4 separate regions of the Homo sapiens genome follow, and regions 1, 3 and 4 are each linked to region 2. Evidence: promoter capture Hi-C in human tissues and cell types (Jung and others, 2019). All regions are on one chromosome and are shown on one strand. Each heading gives the region's core, a stretch centred on a gene start or on the middle of the fragment in contact. The rest is flanking DNA. Distances are from core to core; before and after follow the strand shown. Region 1 has its middle 11 kb from the start of BRD3OS. Region 2 holds the start of PPP1R26 (protein phosphatase 1 regulatory subunit 26). Region 3 holds the start of WDR5 (WD repeat domain 5). Region 4 overlaps LOC105376311 (a long non-coding RNA gene).

Region 1 (3,523 bases), core at 725-3,224, 1.5 Mb after region 2:
CATGGTGGTGCATGCCTGTAATCGCTGCTGGTTGGGAGGCTGAGGCAGGAGAATCGCTTCAACCCAGGAGGTGGAGGTTGCAGTGAGCCGAGATTGCACCATTGCACTCCAGCCTGGGCAACAAGAGTGAAATTCTGTCTCAAAAAAAAAAAAGATACCATTTACAATAATTTCAAAATATATCAAATACCTGGAAATGGGGATGGATGCCCCATTCTCCACGATGTGGTTATTCCACATTGCCTGCGTCAAAACATCTCATATACCCCATAAGTATATGTATCTACTATGTACCCCCACAAATGAAAAATTAAAAAATACCTAGGAATATTCAGGACTTCACAAATACTTTATTTTATTTTACTATTATTATTTTTTTGAGACAGAGTTTTGCTCTTGTTGCCCAGGCTGGAGTGCAATGGTGCGATCTCGGCTCACTGCAACCTCCGCCTCCCAGGTTCAAGTGATTCTCCTGCGTCAGCCGCCTGAGTAGCTGGGATTACAGGCATGTGCCACCATGCCCGGCTAATTTTGGATTTTTAGTAGAGACGGGGTTTCTCCACGTTGGTCAGGCTGGTCTCAAACTCCCAACCTCAGGTGATCCGCCCACCTCAGCCTCCCAAAGTGCTGGGATTACAGGCATGAGCCACCGTGCCCGGCTGGCACAAAAACTTTAAATGGAGAAATTTTATGAATGGAAACCTCACTATTTAAATTTAAAAAAGATACCAACTATAGACATCTGACTAAAGTATGCACTTGAATTAATAATAATGTATCAATATTGGTTCATTAATTGTCACAGACCACACGAAAGTAAGACATCAACAATAGAGAAAATTGGTATTGGGCTTATATGGACGCCGTACCATGTTTGCAATTTTTCTGTAAAACAAACTCTTCTAAAATTTTTAAAGCTTATTAAAATATACCTTTTAAGAGTGAAAAGGAAAGCCACAGAACGTGAGAAGAAATTTGCAATACATATGATTGATATGGAACTTATATTAGTCAGAGTCTGTTTGGAAGAGAGAAACCACACCAATCATTTGAACTGGGAGAAATAAATACAAGGAATTGTTCGCTAAGTACAAAGTTGTTAAGTTCAGAAGAAAAAAAATAACTCTAAAATATCCTAAAGTAGCACCTGCAGGAAGCAACTACCACCACCCCTAGGGATAAGGAACAAAGGGAAGAGGTTGGAATGATGAAAACCTAGATGCTTAGAGGAGGGACCCATGAAGCTGCCAGAAGTGTCCAAACCAGAGTGACTCCATCTTGAATGAGAGAAAAATATAGTGAGACCTGCTGGGTCACATTCCCAGGAGGTGAAGCACTCTTATGGTTGAGGGAGCAAGTTAATGATGCTTACTAACTAAACAGACCCAGTACTTCTGGAAATGCCCTGATGTCCTGATATCTTAAGGAAAAAAACTTTCTTAATTTAAGAATAGGTTTTGGCTGGGCGCAGTGGCTCAGGCCTGTAATCCCAGCACTTTGGGAGGCCAAGACGTGGGCATCACCTGAATCCAGGAGGTTGAGACCAGCTTGGGCAACATGGTGCCATCTCTACCAAAAACCAAAATTAGCCAGGTGTTGTGGCACACACCTGTGGTCCCAGCTATTTGGGAGGCTGAGGTGGGAGGATCATTGAGCCTGGGAGTTTGAGGCTGCAGTGATCCATGATCGCGCCACTGCACTCCAGCTTGGGGGAGGGGAGTAAGACCGCCATCTTAATTGAAAAAAAAAAAGGAATAGCTAGATACAAACATACACATACTTAATAGGCAAGGGAATCTACGGAGTTGATACAAGCCTTGTTCCTGCAACCAGTCCCGAGGCCGCAGTGTTTCACAGTCCCGAGGCCGCAGTGTATCACAGTCCCGAGGCCACAGTGTATCACAGTCCCGAGGCCGCAGTGTATCACAGTCCCGAGGCCGCAGTGTTTCACAGTCCCGAGGCCGCAGTGTATCACAGTCCCGAGGCCGCAGTGTATCACAGTCCCGAGGCCGCAGTGTTTCACAGTCCCGAGGCCGCAGTGTATCACAGTCCCGAGGCCGCAGTGTTTCACAGTCCCGAGGCCGCAGTGTTTCACAGTCCCGAGGCCGCAGTGTATCGCAGTCCCGAGGCCGCAGTGTTTCGCAGTCCCGAGGCCGCAGTGTATCGCAGTCCCGAGGCCGCAGTGTTTCGCAGTCCCGAGGCCGCAGTGTATCGCAGTCCCGAGGCCGCAGTGTTTCGCAGTCCCGAGGCCGCAGTGTATCGCAGTCCCGAGGCCGCAGTGTATCGCAGTCCCGAGGCCGCAGTGTTTCACAGTCCCGAGGCCGCAGTGTTTCACTGTCCCGAGGCCGCAGTGTATCGCAGTCCCGAGGCCGCAGTGTATCGCAGTCCCGAGGCCGCAGTGTTTCACTGTCCCGAGGCCGCAGTGTATCACAGTCCCGAGGCCGCAGTGTATCACAGTCCCGAGGCCTCGGTGTTTCACAGTCCCGGGGCCGCGGTGTTTCACAGTCCCGGGGCCGCGGTGTATCACAGTCCCGGGGCCGCGGTGTATCACAGTCCCGGGGCCGCGGTGTATCACAGTCCCGGGGCCGCGGTGTTTCACAGTCCCGGGGCCGCGGTGTTTCACAGTCCCGGGGCCGCGGTGTTTCACAGTCCCGGGGCCGCGGTGTTTCACAGTCCCGGGGCCGCGGTGTATCACAGTCCCGGGGCCGCGGTGTATCACAGTCCCGGGGCCGCGGTGTTTCGCAGTCCCGGGGCCGCGGTGTTTCGCAGTCCCGGGGCCGCGGTGTATCGCAGTCCCGAGGCCGCGGTGTTTCGCAGTCCCGAGGCCGCAGTGTATCGCAGTCCCGAGGCCGCAGTGTATCGCAGTCCCGAGGCCGCAGTGTTTCACTGTCCCGAGGCCGCAGTGTATCACAGTCCCGAGGCCGCAGTGTATCACAGTCCCGAGGCCTCGGTGTTTCACAGTCCCGGGGCCGCGGTGTTTCACAGTCCCGGGGCCGCGGTGTATCACAGTCCCGGGGCCGCGGTGTTTCACAGTCCCGGGGCCGCGGTGTATCACAGTCCCGGGGCCGCGGTGTATCACAGTCCCGGGGCCGCGGTGTTTCACAGTCCCGGGGCCGCGGTGTATCACAGTCCCGGGGCCGCGGTGTTTCACAGTCCCGGGGCCGCGGTGTATCACAGTCCCGGGGCCGCGGTGTTTCACAGTCCCGGGGCCGCGGTGTATCGCAGTCCCGGGGCCGCGGTGTTTCGCAGTCCCGGGGCCGCGGTGTATCGCAGTCCCGGGGCCGCGGTGTTTCGCAGTCCCGGGGCCGCGGTGTATCGCAGTCCCGGGGCCGCGGTGTTTCGCAGTCCCGGGGCCGCGGTGTATCGCAGTCCCGGGGCCGCGGTGTATCGCAGTCCCGGGGCCGCGGTGTATCGCAGTCCCGGGGCCGCGGTGTATCGCAGTCCCGGGGCCGCGGTGTATCGCAGTCCCGGGGCCGCGGTGTATCGCAGTCCCGGGGCCGCGGTGTATCGCAGTCCCGGGGCC
Region 2 (3,574 bases), core at 762-3,261:
ACAAAAATTAGCTGGGCGTGGTGGCGTGTGCCCGTAATCCCAGCTACTGGGGAGGCTGAGACAGGAGAATTGCTTGAACCCAGGAGGCAGAGGTTGCAGTGAGCCGAGATCGCGCCACTGCACTCCAGCCTAGGAGACAGAACGAGACTCCATCTCAGAAAGAAAAAAAAAAATCGAGGGGGGTCGTCTCCCCAGGACAGCTTGTGGCTTTAAAACATTATGCGAGATGAATCATTCTTGAAAAGCCCCCTGGGTCGGGGATAGTGGCTCACACCTGTAATCCCAGCACTCTGGGAGGTGGAGGCAGGTGGATCACTTGAGGCCAGGAGTTCGAGACCAGCCTGGCCAACATGGCGAAACCCCATCTCTACTAAAAACACATAAATTAGCTGGGCGTGGGAGCCCACGTCTGTAGTTCCAGCTACTCCAGGGGCTGAGGCACGAGAATCGCTTGAACCAGGGAGGCGGAGATTACAGTGAGCCGAGATCAGCCATTGCACTCCAGCCTGGGCGACAAAGCGAGACTCTGGCTCTAAAAAAAAAAAAAAAAAAAAAACAAGAAAAGCCCCCTAATCAGTCCTTAGAGATAGGTGTGGGCCCAAGCCAGAGGTGCAGGCTTTGTCAAATTGCTGCCTCAGGATACGGTCTTGAGGGTGGCTGTGGGGACACCCAGCACCTGCACCCCAAGGCCACACGGTGTCAGATTTTAGGAAGCGGTGGAGAACACTCGGGTACCTTCTCGGTCCAGACATCAACCTTCTGGAGAGAACCAAAGCACCCACACTGGGCCCTCGCCATCCTAACAGTCTGCCCACCTGTGAGAAACGCCCCCAAATACTCTACATTTCTCGGTTGGCCGAAAAGCAGCTCAGCCAGCGGTCTTACCTCCCAGGTGGGGTTTCCCCCCAGGGTAGGGAGGCCAGGGTCTGCAGGCCAGGGAGAGGAGCCCCGGTGCAGGAGCGGGCGGGGCAGCAGGAGGACCCGCTCCAGCCACCCAGAAGTGGGCGTGGGCTAGAATTCAGCTCCCAGCCTTCCAGAAGCTGCAATTTTACAACCTCACTACAAGCGTCCCCCAGCAAAGCTGCACCGCCATTTCCTGTGCTTGGGAACTGAAGGCAAGGTGAGCCCCTCCCGGCTGCCCCGGCCCGACCTCCCCTGACTCCCAAGCTTGGGCTACTCACGGCCTGCGGGCTGGGCAGGGTCCCCCAAGGGAGCTCCCCTCCCCGAGGGCGCGCTCACCCTAGCCGCTGGGATCGGCGACCTGGTCCTCGGCCCGGCGGGAGTGAACGCCTCCCAGGGAAGAGGCCGGGCCTCCAAGCAGGTCTGCACCCCCGGAGTTATGTTTCTGGGATCCGAGGACTAGCGAGCTTGGGGCCCGGGAGAGCGGCCACCCTCCCGGAAGCTCCGCCTGGCGCAGGGCGTGAACCGCAGTCTCCAGGCCGGCCGGGCCGCGGCCATTCTCGGAGGGCAGCGGCCGCCCCGGGCCGGGCCAAAGCTCCCCACCGCGGGCCCTCACCTGCGCCTCACCTGGGGCTCCAGGAGCGCGGGGCGCGCGGGCCGAGAGTCGCACGGAGGCCAGAGACAGGATCCCCGCCCGGGGAACGGAGCAGCCCCGGCGCCGATCCCCGTCCGCCTGCCTCGGGGAGCCCCCGCCGCCCGCCCGCCGCGGCCTGCACGGCGCGCCGGCCCCGGCCTGGCTGGCCCTCCTGTCCCCGACCCCCCAGCTTCCCAGCCCCCGAGCCCCCCGGCCCCGGCCCTGCACCCGCTCACCTCCGCCCGTCCCCCGCCGCCCGCCGCGCGGACCCCGCCTGCGCCCGCGTCCCACGTCCCGGGGGAGGCGGCGGGCCGGGGGCGGGCCGGAGGCTGCAGGGCCAGCGCGCTCCGCCCTCGGCCGGGGCGCGGGGAGGGGGCGCAGGGGCGTCCGGCCGGGCCCCCCGCCTCCCCGCCTCCCCGCGCGCCGCCGCTGCCGCCGCCCCGCGCCCGGGCCGCGCCGTGGGAAGCGCGGGAGGGGAGGGGCGGGGCGGGGGGCGGGGCGACCCCCCCAAGCCGCCCCCTCCCCGCGACCTACCGGACGGTGGCGGCGGCGGCCGCACTCCGGAAGCCGTGCCCGTGGCTGGGCATCATGGGAATGGCACGGCCGAGTTCCGGGGGAGGCGCGCGGCCCGGCCGGACCCCCGCCCGCGAGAGCGCGCCCACCTGCCGCCGCGCCCGCGCCCCGGGGACGCCCCCGCCCCGCCCCGCCCGGTTCGGACGCGGCCCCCTCCGCGGGGTGCGGGGCGAAGGCGCTTGGGCCGGGCCGAGCCCCGTGCTGCCCGCCTCCCGTACCGCGGCCACCTCCGGGGGGCGCGCAGGGGGCGCGGGGTCGCCGGGAAGTTCTGGGCGCGGGGGGCGTGGCCGTGGGAAAGCGCTCGGAGCCGCGGGAAGGGAGCGTGCGGGGCCCCGGCGCCAACCGAGTTCCTCCCCGAAGTTCACGCGGGGCTCCGGGCTGAGACCGGCCCGCCCGCCCCTCCAGCCCCACAGCCTTGGGCCGGGGTCGGGGGCGGCCCCCGCGTGTCCCCGCGGCTGCCCCACCCGAGCTTGCGGCGGGGAGTGGACGCACGACCTGCCCGGGGCGGCGGCTCCTCGAGCACACCTGCCGCCAGGTTCGGGGGAGGGAACAGTTTCTAGGAACTGCCCCGGACCTTGAGGCCGCTGCTGTTTCTGCTTCTGCTGTGCACTGACCATGTGACCTTGAAAGTCTTCCCAGTTTTGTTTTATAAAAGGTCCAGGGTGTGTGCCCGAGGCTGGCGGTGGCCCGGGTGTGCTCAGCATCCCCGGGCGGCGGGGAACGGGCAGACCCGACTGGATCCTCCCTCAGCGCCCACTCGTGGAAGGGGCAGATGGTGCGCAGGGGCACCGCGCTGCTTCTGTAAGCCCCCTGGGCCCTGATCCACACGTGTCTGGGAGATGAATTTGTGGGTTCGGTTCCTGTCTAGAAAGTGTCAGAGATTTGATAGGATCAAAATCAGAGACTTGCCTTGGAGGGGTGCTTCTAGTCATGCCAGCCTGGGAAGCTGGAGGGCCAGTTTTGGGTCAGGAAACCCATTAAAGAATTGTTTTAATGCCTTCGTGAATTTTTTCAAAAAGCAATTTTTTTTTTCTCATGAAATAATACTCTTTCATTACCAAACTTTGGGGAGATGATCTAATTAATAAGGTGACTTCCCAGAGACATGGGCTGTTAAGGTTTTGGCATGCTGCTTCACAGTTTTTAAAACAGTGCTGTGGTGAACAGCTTTCATGATGCCTCCTTAGAGCGGCTCTGAGCATTTCCTGCGGGCAAATCCCTAGAAGAGGCCGGCGGGCCAAAGACTATGCTGCATTTTGCCAAAATGCCCTCCAGAAATGCGGGGCCAGCCTGCCGTCCACCCACTGGTGAGCGGGCATGCCCGCTTGCCTGTCCTCTTGCCAGCCCTGAGATATGTCATTGCGTTATGTCTTTGGCAGTCTGATAGGCGAAACAGCCCTTTTCATCACTTGAATCCTAATTTCTTTGACTGCTGGTGATGTTGAACATCTTTTCATTTTATTATTG
Region 3 (3,658 bases), core at 842-3,341, 1.3 Mb after region 2:
GCGGTCTTACAAAAAAGGTGTCCAGCCCCTCCCAGCTCAAGCCCAACCTGCCCCAACCTTTGGGCTCAAAAAACATGAACATGTAAAAGAAACAAACAAAACAACCTTAACTTGACTTTTAAGAATATGATGGCTGGGCACAGTGGCTGACGCCTGTAATCTCAGCACTTTGGGAGGCTGAGGTGGGCAGATCACGAGGTCAGGAAGTTCAAGACCAGCCTGACCAGCATGGAGAAACCCCCTCCCTACTAAAAATACAGAAATTAGCCGGGTGTGGTGGTCGGTCCCTGTAATCCCAGCTACTCGGGAGGCTGAGGCAGGAGAATCACTTGAAACCAGAAGGCAGAACCAAGATTGCGCCACTGCACTCCAGCCTGGGCCAAACAGTGAAACTCCGTCGGGGGGTGGCGGGGAATGCAATTTCTTGACCCAACACACCCACCAAGTTTCTACGTCGGTGGGGTCTAGGCTTGGCGTGTTTTTTTTTTGTTTTTGTTTTTTTTTTGAGACACAGTCCAAAGAGTCCAGGTGCACGATCTGGGCTCACTACAACCTCCACCTTCCGGGTTCAAGTAATTCTTGCGCCTCAGCCTCCAGTTTAGCCGGGATTACAGGCGCGTACCACTACGCCCGGCCAATCTTTTGTATTTTTAGTAGAGACGGAGTTTCGCCATGTTGCCCAGGCTAGTCTCGAACTCCTGACCTCAGGCAATCCGCCCGCCTCAGCCTCCCAAAGTGCTAGGATTACAGGCGTGAGCCACCGCGCCGGGCCAAGGCTTGGCATTTTCATGAACACTCAGGTGTCTCTGTGGAACAATCCTTTTGAGAGAACAGGAAGGTTGGAGACTTGATCTTGAGGAAAGCGGGGGCCAAGGTTACGGGAACGGTGATGAATTGGCGGCCCCTAGACCAGATGCTGCCTGGCTCCTCCTAGCAGCCACTGCTTTTCATCCAGGTAAGCCTGACCACCTGAAGCCGAGCAACCAAACCTCAGTGTGCCCTCCTGGACTGCATGCCACAGGCCGATTCCTGAGTCCCTCAGTCCCTGAGGTGGAGCCCAGGAATCTGCCTGTGACATGCAGTCAGAAAAGCATACTGTGTGCAAAGACAGGAATTAATCTGCATCTTAAACACCAGCCGGGTGGCCGGCCCAACAGAGGTGGGGACCTGGCTCTCCCTATCTGAGATCCTGGACAGGCTCCCCGCCTGGGTCCTTCGCTTTCCTGTCTTCCCCACCGGCTAGGACAGCACCTGCCCAGGTCACAGATTAAACTAGCATTTGAGGAGATGGGTAAACGGACCGGGGTGAGTGGAAACTTGCAAGCGAGACAGCAGGGAGTGTCGTTAGCGATGTAACAGGCCGACCTCTGTTTGGTCCGGGAACGTAACCGCTCAAAATGGCTCTCGCAGACCGGCCAGGACAGGTCTGCGGCCCCGCGCGAGGAGGCACGGTGGGCCTACCGTTCAGGACCGAGGACCCGCACCCCAGGACCCCACCTAGCGAGCTGCAGCCTGGCTGCCTCGGGTTGGGGTGAGCGGCGGGAGCGGGCTGGGGGCGTTTCTACGAGGAGGGGAAGCGCACCTCGTCCAGGGACTGAGTGGCTTGGTGGGTCTGGGGTCCTTCCCTGAAGGGGCAGTGGAGGGAGAGGGGCGATGTGAGGCCGGGCACGCTGCCTGCGGGAAAGAGGACCCAGTGCCGGCGCTCTGGCCTTGTCAGCGGTCCGCCGGGGAGGCGGAGGTGGGGGCGCGAGTGGGGGCGGACCGGGTGGAGGGAACTGCGCGCGCGGCCGTCCACCGAGGGGCCGGGGCGGGGGTCCCGGGCGGGGCCGCTGCAGCGGGAGCAGCGCCCGGGGCTGGGCCTGGCCCGAGGCCCGGCGGGGAACACGTGCGGCGGCCGGGTGCGGTTTGGAAGCTTCTGGCGCCGCCCCGCTGCCCGCCTTGTGTTCCCCGGGCCGGGCGGCTGCCCGCTTACCTGCCGGGCCGCGGCGGCGGGGCCGGGCGCTCGGGGCGTCGCGTCGGCCGCCGCCTGGGCGGGAGCGCGGACTCAGCTCGACAAGGCGGCAGCTCGGGCGGGCGCCAGGCGGCGGGGGCGCAGTGCGCGTGCGCGAGGGGAGGGGGCGGTGTCCGGGGGGCGGGGCGAGCTCACAAAGCCGGCCTCTCGGAGGAGCGCTACGGGCAGCGACAGCGGCCAGAATGCCTCGGGCCGGCCCAACGCTTTAAAGGGACAGCACGGGGCGCGCGCTTCCCGCTTAAAAGCTTTAATCCCCGAATTTGACTGGTGCAGGCCCTTCTAATGCACTTCCTAAAAACTGAAGTATAATAATACATACAGGAAAGTGCTAGTGTGCCCTCGCGTTTCCACAGACAGCACGCCCTGTACACAGACACCAGCGGCCCTCCGGGACCTGCGCAGGTGGCGTCGCCCGGCGTTGTCTCCGGAGTCGATTCGGGCCGGGGCACCTCCCCGGGCGACCAGGCCCCTTCTTGATCATCGCTGGTACGGATGAGAGCGGCAGTGGGCATTTGGAAAGCACCTGGGGCCGCGCCCGGGCGCAGTGCCCCCATGTGGCCTCCCACCCCGGGCGGGCAGGACGATTCCTGCCCATCTGGAAGACCAGGAACCTGCGCGTTCACAGGGTTCGGAAGCCCGGGCTGCGCCTTCCCGCGGGGCCGGCTGCCGGGCTGGGGGCTCTTCCCGCCTCTGCATGCACAGAGCCCGCGGTGCACGAACCTGCTCCCCGCCAGCCCCGCGGACTGGCAGGGCCGCTCTGGAGTCACCCGCGCCCGCTCCGCAGTGCGCAAACTCACTTCGCAGCGGGCTCTCCCGGGGCCAGCCCTTCCCTCCTGGGCGGGCATTTTCACCTCCAGGTACAAGGGGGTGGTCCCCAGAGGAGGACTCAGGGGCTTAAGGAGAAGCTGAGGCCCGGTCCTCTGGCCTCAACGACTGCACATTCTCGCCGCCTGCTTCACTTCTTAGAGCCTTGGAGGTAGGCATGGCCTCCCTATCCCCTCAGCTAGGCCTGTGGGTAGAATAACATACAGTCCCTTATTCTCCAATTAAAAATGGGAACACAGAATATGACACAGGAACCCATGCAAACAAAGGGATAGAGCATTTGAAATAAAAATGCCAAGGAGGGTGAGGTGAGCGGTTGTCAGAGAGGTGGAACCGGAAGACTGGCAGTTGGTCTGGAGTCCCCTTCCCAGGAAGGACACAGAGAAGGCAAGGTCCCTGTCTGGTCCTTCAGGGCTCCATATGGATTTGTGTGCCCAAGAGGCCGGATCCCTTGGGCCAGGTGCCCTGGAGCATGGAGTGGTGACAGTCACAGGTTAGCAAACCCAGTTCGGATGAAGAAGCGCATCTTTATCTCCGTCCACCTGGCCGCCTGGGCCGGAATCCCGAGCCCGTGACACGCTGCTCTCCTTCCACCCCACCTCAGCTCTCAGATCGTCCACTTCTCTCCCTCCCCACCCCAGCCCTACCTCCCACCTGGGTCTTTTCTAAACCTCCAAACAGAGAAACTCCTAAAAATCCAGCTCTGATCTGTCACTCCCCAGTTTAAAACTCAGAACCAGCTTCCCACTGCCCTCAATTCCCTAATTCCCACTGCTCAATTCGGCTAAAGTGCTTACCAGACCCCGCCTCCTCTTCCAACCT
Region 4 (3,479 bases), core at 544-3,043, 1.0 Mb after region 2:
AAGCAGGGGAAGGGCACTCTCCCCAGCCCATGAGATGGGCAGCAGGCAAGGAGGGGTGCAGGGGCTCTGCCTGGGGAATCGCAGAAGCATCACACAGTTCTCTGCCTTCACTCCTGGCCCTGAAAGCCCCTTCTCTGTATTTTGCTCTTCATTTCCAGAGCAGGATGTGGGAAACACAAGCACTGGAGGAAAAGGAGGACCCTTCAGCTAAGACGGAATCAGGGATGTTCATATGCGGGTCCGTCCCTGCTTCTACAGCCCGCCACGGTCCATTCTGGGGCAGCATCTTGGCCCCTAAGCATGGGGACAGAGAGCAAAAAGGCAGCATCTGCAAATCAAACTAAGCAGCATGTTCCAGGGCTGGGCAAATGGGAGAGGGAGGAGCCGGGAGGTGGTTGCCAGGGAAACATCAGAGCTTAGCCAGTCAGCAGGGGCCACCAGTTTGGTTGCCGGGTGCACTCTGCAGGATGACACTGCCCTCAGGTGGTGGATAGGGATGCTGACAGCCACGGCACCAGGGACCGCTATGTCCTGAGCCGATGGAGGCACCTTAGGATGTTTTCCCCTCGCTCTGTGTATACTAAAGATACCCAAGTAGGGCTGACCCTGCATACAGCTCCCATGGCCTCTCTGGGGGAGCAAGCTGAGGATATTCCGTTGTGATGAGGTTTCACAAGCATCCTGACCTCTGGGGAAGTTGCTTTTGCCACAGTTCCCATCAAGTGTTGCCCTGCATGCCAAGGAAACAGAGCCCCTTGCAGGGAAGACAAAGGGTCCATGAGATGCCTCCTTCCTTGAACATGACAAAATTCAGTGCTGTCATCCACATAATTCAGCGGCAAAGATAGGTTTTACTGAATTTCTTCAGTAAGGTATTTTCGTTTTCTAAACCCTAAAACTTGGAATAATTAGAGGTTGCCACCCAGTGGGGACTCAGAAAATTGCAACCCAGCTTTATCAGCTGTTGTAACTCTCCAAACAAAACCAAGGTCTCTGCCTATGTGTCGGGGGTGGGGTGGGGCAGGGTGGGTGTTCAGGGACTGGTGGAGTTTCTAGAGCCCCAAGAGGGGTGACATGTCCAACAGAAAGAAACCACCAAATTCCAAATTCAGGAGGACAGTGGAACAAAGTCTGCTGGCCTTGGACCTTTAAGCTGTCTGCCTTCCCACACCCTCGCTTTCCAACTCACCCAATGAAGAACACAGCTGCACAGTGACAGTCCCATCAAGCCTGTGTCTGCTGCACCCAGACAAAGCCTCAGAGTCCTTCTCATCACAGTGCTGTCAGCAGCCCCTGCTACCAACTAGAATGGTCAAATGGCTGTATGGCCCCCTCAATCCATGTTCCATTTGCTCCTAGTTCACTTGGGGTTTTTTGGCAAATTGTTTGCTTTTCTCTAAAGTATATTGTTTGTAACTCAAGTAGCTTGTTTGTTGCACCCAAAGTTCACTAGGTTTGTACTTACTGGAAAATTCCTGGGTCCTGCCCTTTTGACGTGTCCCCACCCAGGGCCCCCTGCCACCACATGCCCTCCAGTGACACTGACACCTTGGCCCTCTATTCCCTGGACAGTCTGCAGTTGGCTGGCCCCAGGCACCTGCAGTCCAGGTGACCCCACCTTCCACTCTCACTACCAGCCCTGTGACATTCTGCCCCACAGCTGGGTTAGACTCCCTGAGCACATGCACCTCCGGTTCTCCCAGGCCCTTCACTGCAGCTGGGTCCTCAGTAGACCCACACACTTGTCATGGCTTCTGTGCAAGCCACCCACGTCCCTGGGCACCCAGAGAAAGGACCTTAGTAGAAAAGGCCAATGAGGCTGCAAAGCCCGGCACCTGGAAGGTCTCTCGCTCTCAGTCTCGCCCAGCTGCCCCTCACTGAGTGTTGGAGTGATGCCAGAGGGGAGCCACTGCAGGTCTTGGCTCAGGCAGCACCACAAGCAAGGTGCTAGGATTAGCCCCATTCCACAGGGGCAGAAACTGAGGCTCTGGGTGAGCGAGCAGGGAGCTGACGTGAGTGACTCCAGAGCCCACACTTATATCTCGCAGGGGCAGAGCAGAAGAGACCGAGGACTGGATTCCAGGCCAGCACCACCAGCAGGGCCCTTGGCTCCTGGCCACTACCTGAGATACAGAGGGTCTGCAGAGCCCATGTCCTCCTGCTCCCCTCCCCCACCCCATCCAACCTCCAACAAAGGAAAAATCTTCCCCAAACCCTGCCTGTCTGTTAGGAAAGCTCCCCTACTTCAGTCCCCTGGCCCTGGGGCCACTAACCCAGGTCTTACTGACCAAGAACTTGGGGGATTTTTATGCAACAGCAAGAGTCTGAACCAGAGAGGGGTGAGATACTCCCCGGGTGTCAAGCTGAGGCCCTGGTCCAACCACAACTCCTGGCGTGTTCACTGGCACTGGGCCTGGAAGCCAGGCCATGGCTTCTCCAGGTGGGCAGTGTCTGGGAGCTGGGACCCCACTTCTGCTTCCCCCTACCCCAATGCACACAGGCTGCTCCCAAACAGGCTGAGCCTGGGGGACCTTTCAGACTGAAATGCAAGAGCTGAACTGTGGAGGCAGACTTGCCACAAGCAGCCCTGTGATGGTCTCATGCCCATCCCACAGACAGTGGGCACACCAAACAGGGGAAACCGAGTCACAGGCATGTGCAACAGTGATCACCAGCTCAGCAGGTCCAGGGCCAGGACTCCAGAGAAACCCCTGCCCACCGCCACCCCACTCAGCCTGGAGGAAGCCCCACAGCTGGGCCCAAGCACCCTGGTGCCCCACCAGCCGCATCCTCCTCCCTCTGGGTGATAGGGCACTGAGTCTCCGCACCTGACTCGCTCAGGGTGCTGCTCCAGATTCTACGTGTTCCTCCTGCTCCCAGGTGAGAGCAGCACTCCTGACCACTGCTGGTCATGCACCAGCCTCAGCTTCCCCAGCTGTGACAGCTACCAGGGAACAGGCCTGCGGTGGCAAATGTGCCGTGTGTGCTGGAGGGTGGACATGCTGCTTCCGACAGCTGCACCCCAGTGAGTGCCGGGCGAGAGGAGCCCAGCGAGAAGCTTCCCAAAAGCGCCTCCCTCCTTCCAGGACGGGCAGCAGGAGAGCAGGGAAGTGCTACAGGCCCACCTGGCTTCCCTTTGAAGCCCTTAAGGAAAGCCCCTCTCTGATCACTCTGTGGGAACAAGGCCACCGCTGACCAGCAAAGACAATCTTCCTGAGAGTCCTGACACTGTTGTGTAGGTTGTGAGACCCGTCTCTCTCCAGCCCTGCTTCCTTTGTGAACCTGGGCTTGTCACCCCTGCCCCTCCTCCTTCACGGAGCTGCTGGGAGGACAACATGAAGCCCCTGGAGATGAAGGACGTTGCTACGCCGGTAAGGGCCAGGCAGATGTGAGAAGGGCGTGAGGGCCGCGTTCAGCAGCCGTGCAGTGGTGCAAAGAAGATGCTGCTGGGCAGGTGGGTGTTGGGCCTGCTCAGGTGG

What was found. The method cuts DNA at HindIII sites, captures the fragments that hold promoters and counts their contacts. A contact is called where the count stands out against the background at its distance.
Region 1: a contact is called between a fragment that was not itself captured here and the fragment with the promoter of PPP1R26 in region 2, in 1 of the 25 tissues and cell types used here (spleen).
Region 3: a contact is called between the fragment with the promoter of WDR5 here and the fragment with the promoter of PPP1R26 in region 2, in 1 of the 25 tissues and cell types used here (spleen).
Region 4: a fragment that was not itself captured here is called in contact with the fragment with the promoter of PPP1R26 in region 2 in 1 of the 25 tissues and cell types used here (lymphoblastoid cells).

The regions. Positions count from the first base shown.
Region 1 is chr9:134,012,939-134,016,461 of GRCh38, reverse strand. No RefSeq gene overlaps it. Among named protein-coding and RNA genes, the nearest start is that of BRD3OS, 11 kb to the left of the region's middle. The HindIII fragment of the contact is 3,578 bases long and covers 186-3,523 here.
Region 2 is chr9:135,478,219-135,481,792 of GRCh38, reverse strand. It overlaps PPP1R26 (protein phosphatase 1 regulatory subunit 26), which reads right to left and starts at 2,011. Exons shown (of 4, transcript NM_014811.5): 1 at 1,771-2,011. RefSeq lists silencers at 1,370-1,419, 1,430-1,489. The HindIII fragment of the contact is 17,940 bases long and covers 1-3,574 here.
Region 3 is chr9:134,134,515-134,138,172 of GRCh38, reverse strand. WDR5 (WD repeat domain 5) reads right to left here and starts at 2,091. Exons shown (of 14, transcript NM_017588.3): 1 at 1,973-2,091. WDR5-DT (WDR5 divergent transcript) reads left to right here and starts at 2,191. Exons shown (of 2, transcript NR_186420.1): 1 at 2,191-2,987. RefSeq lists enhancers at 1,110-2,034, 2,941-3,050 and silencers at 1,961-2,140, 2,581-2,750. The HindIII fragment of the contact is 22,361 bases long and covers 2,085-3,658 here.
Region 4 is chr9:134,446,743-134,450,221 of GRCh38, reverse strand. All of the region lies in intron 1 of LOC105376311 (a long non-coding RNA gene), which reads right to left. Among named protein-coding and RNA genes, the nearest start is that of MIR4669, 69 kb to the right of the region's middle. RefSeq lists silencers at 285-579, 2,754-3,161. The HindIII fragment of the contact is 7,221 bases long and covers 1-3,479 here.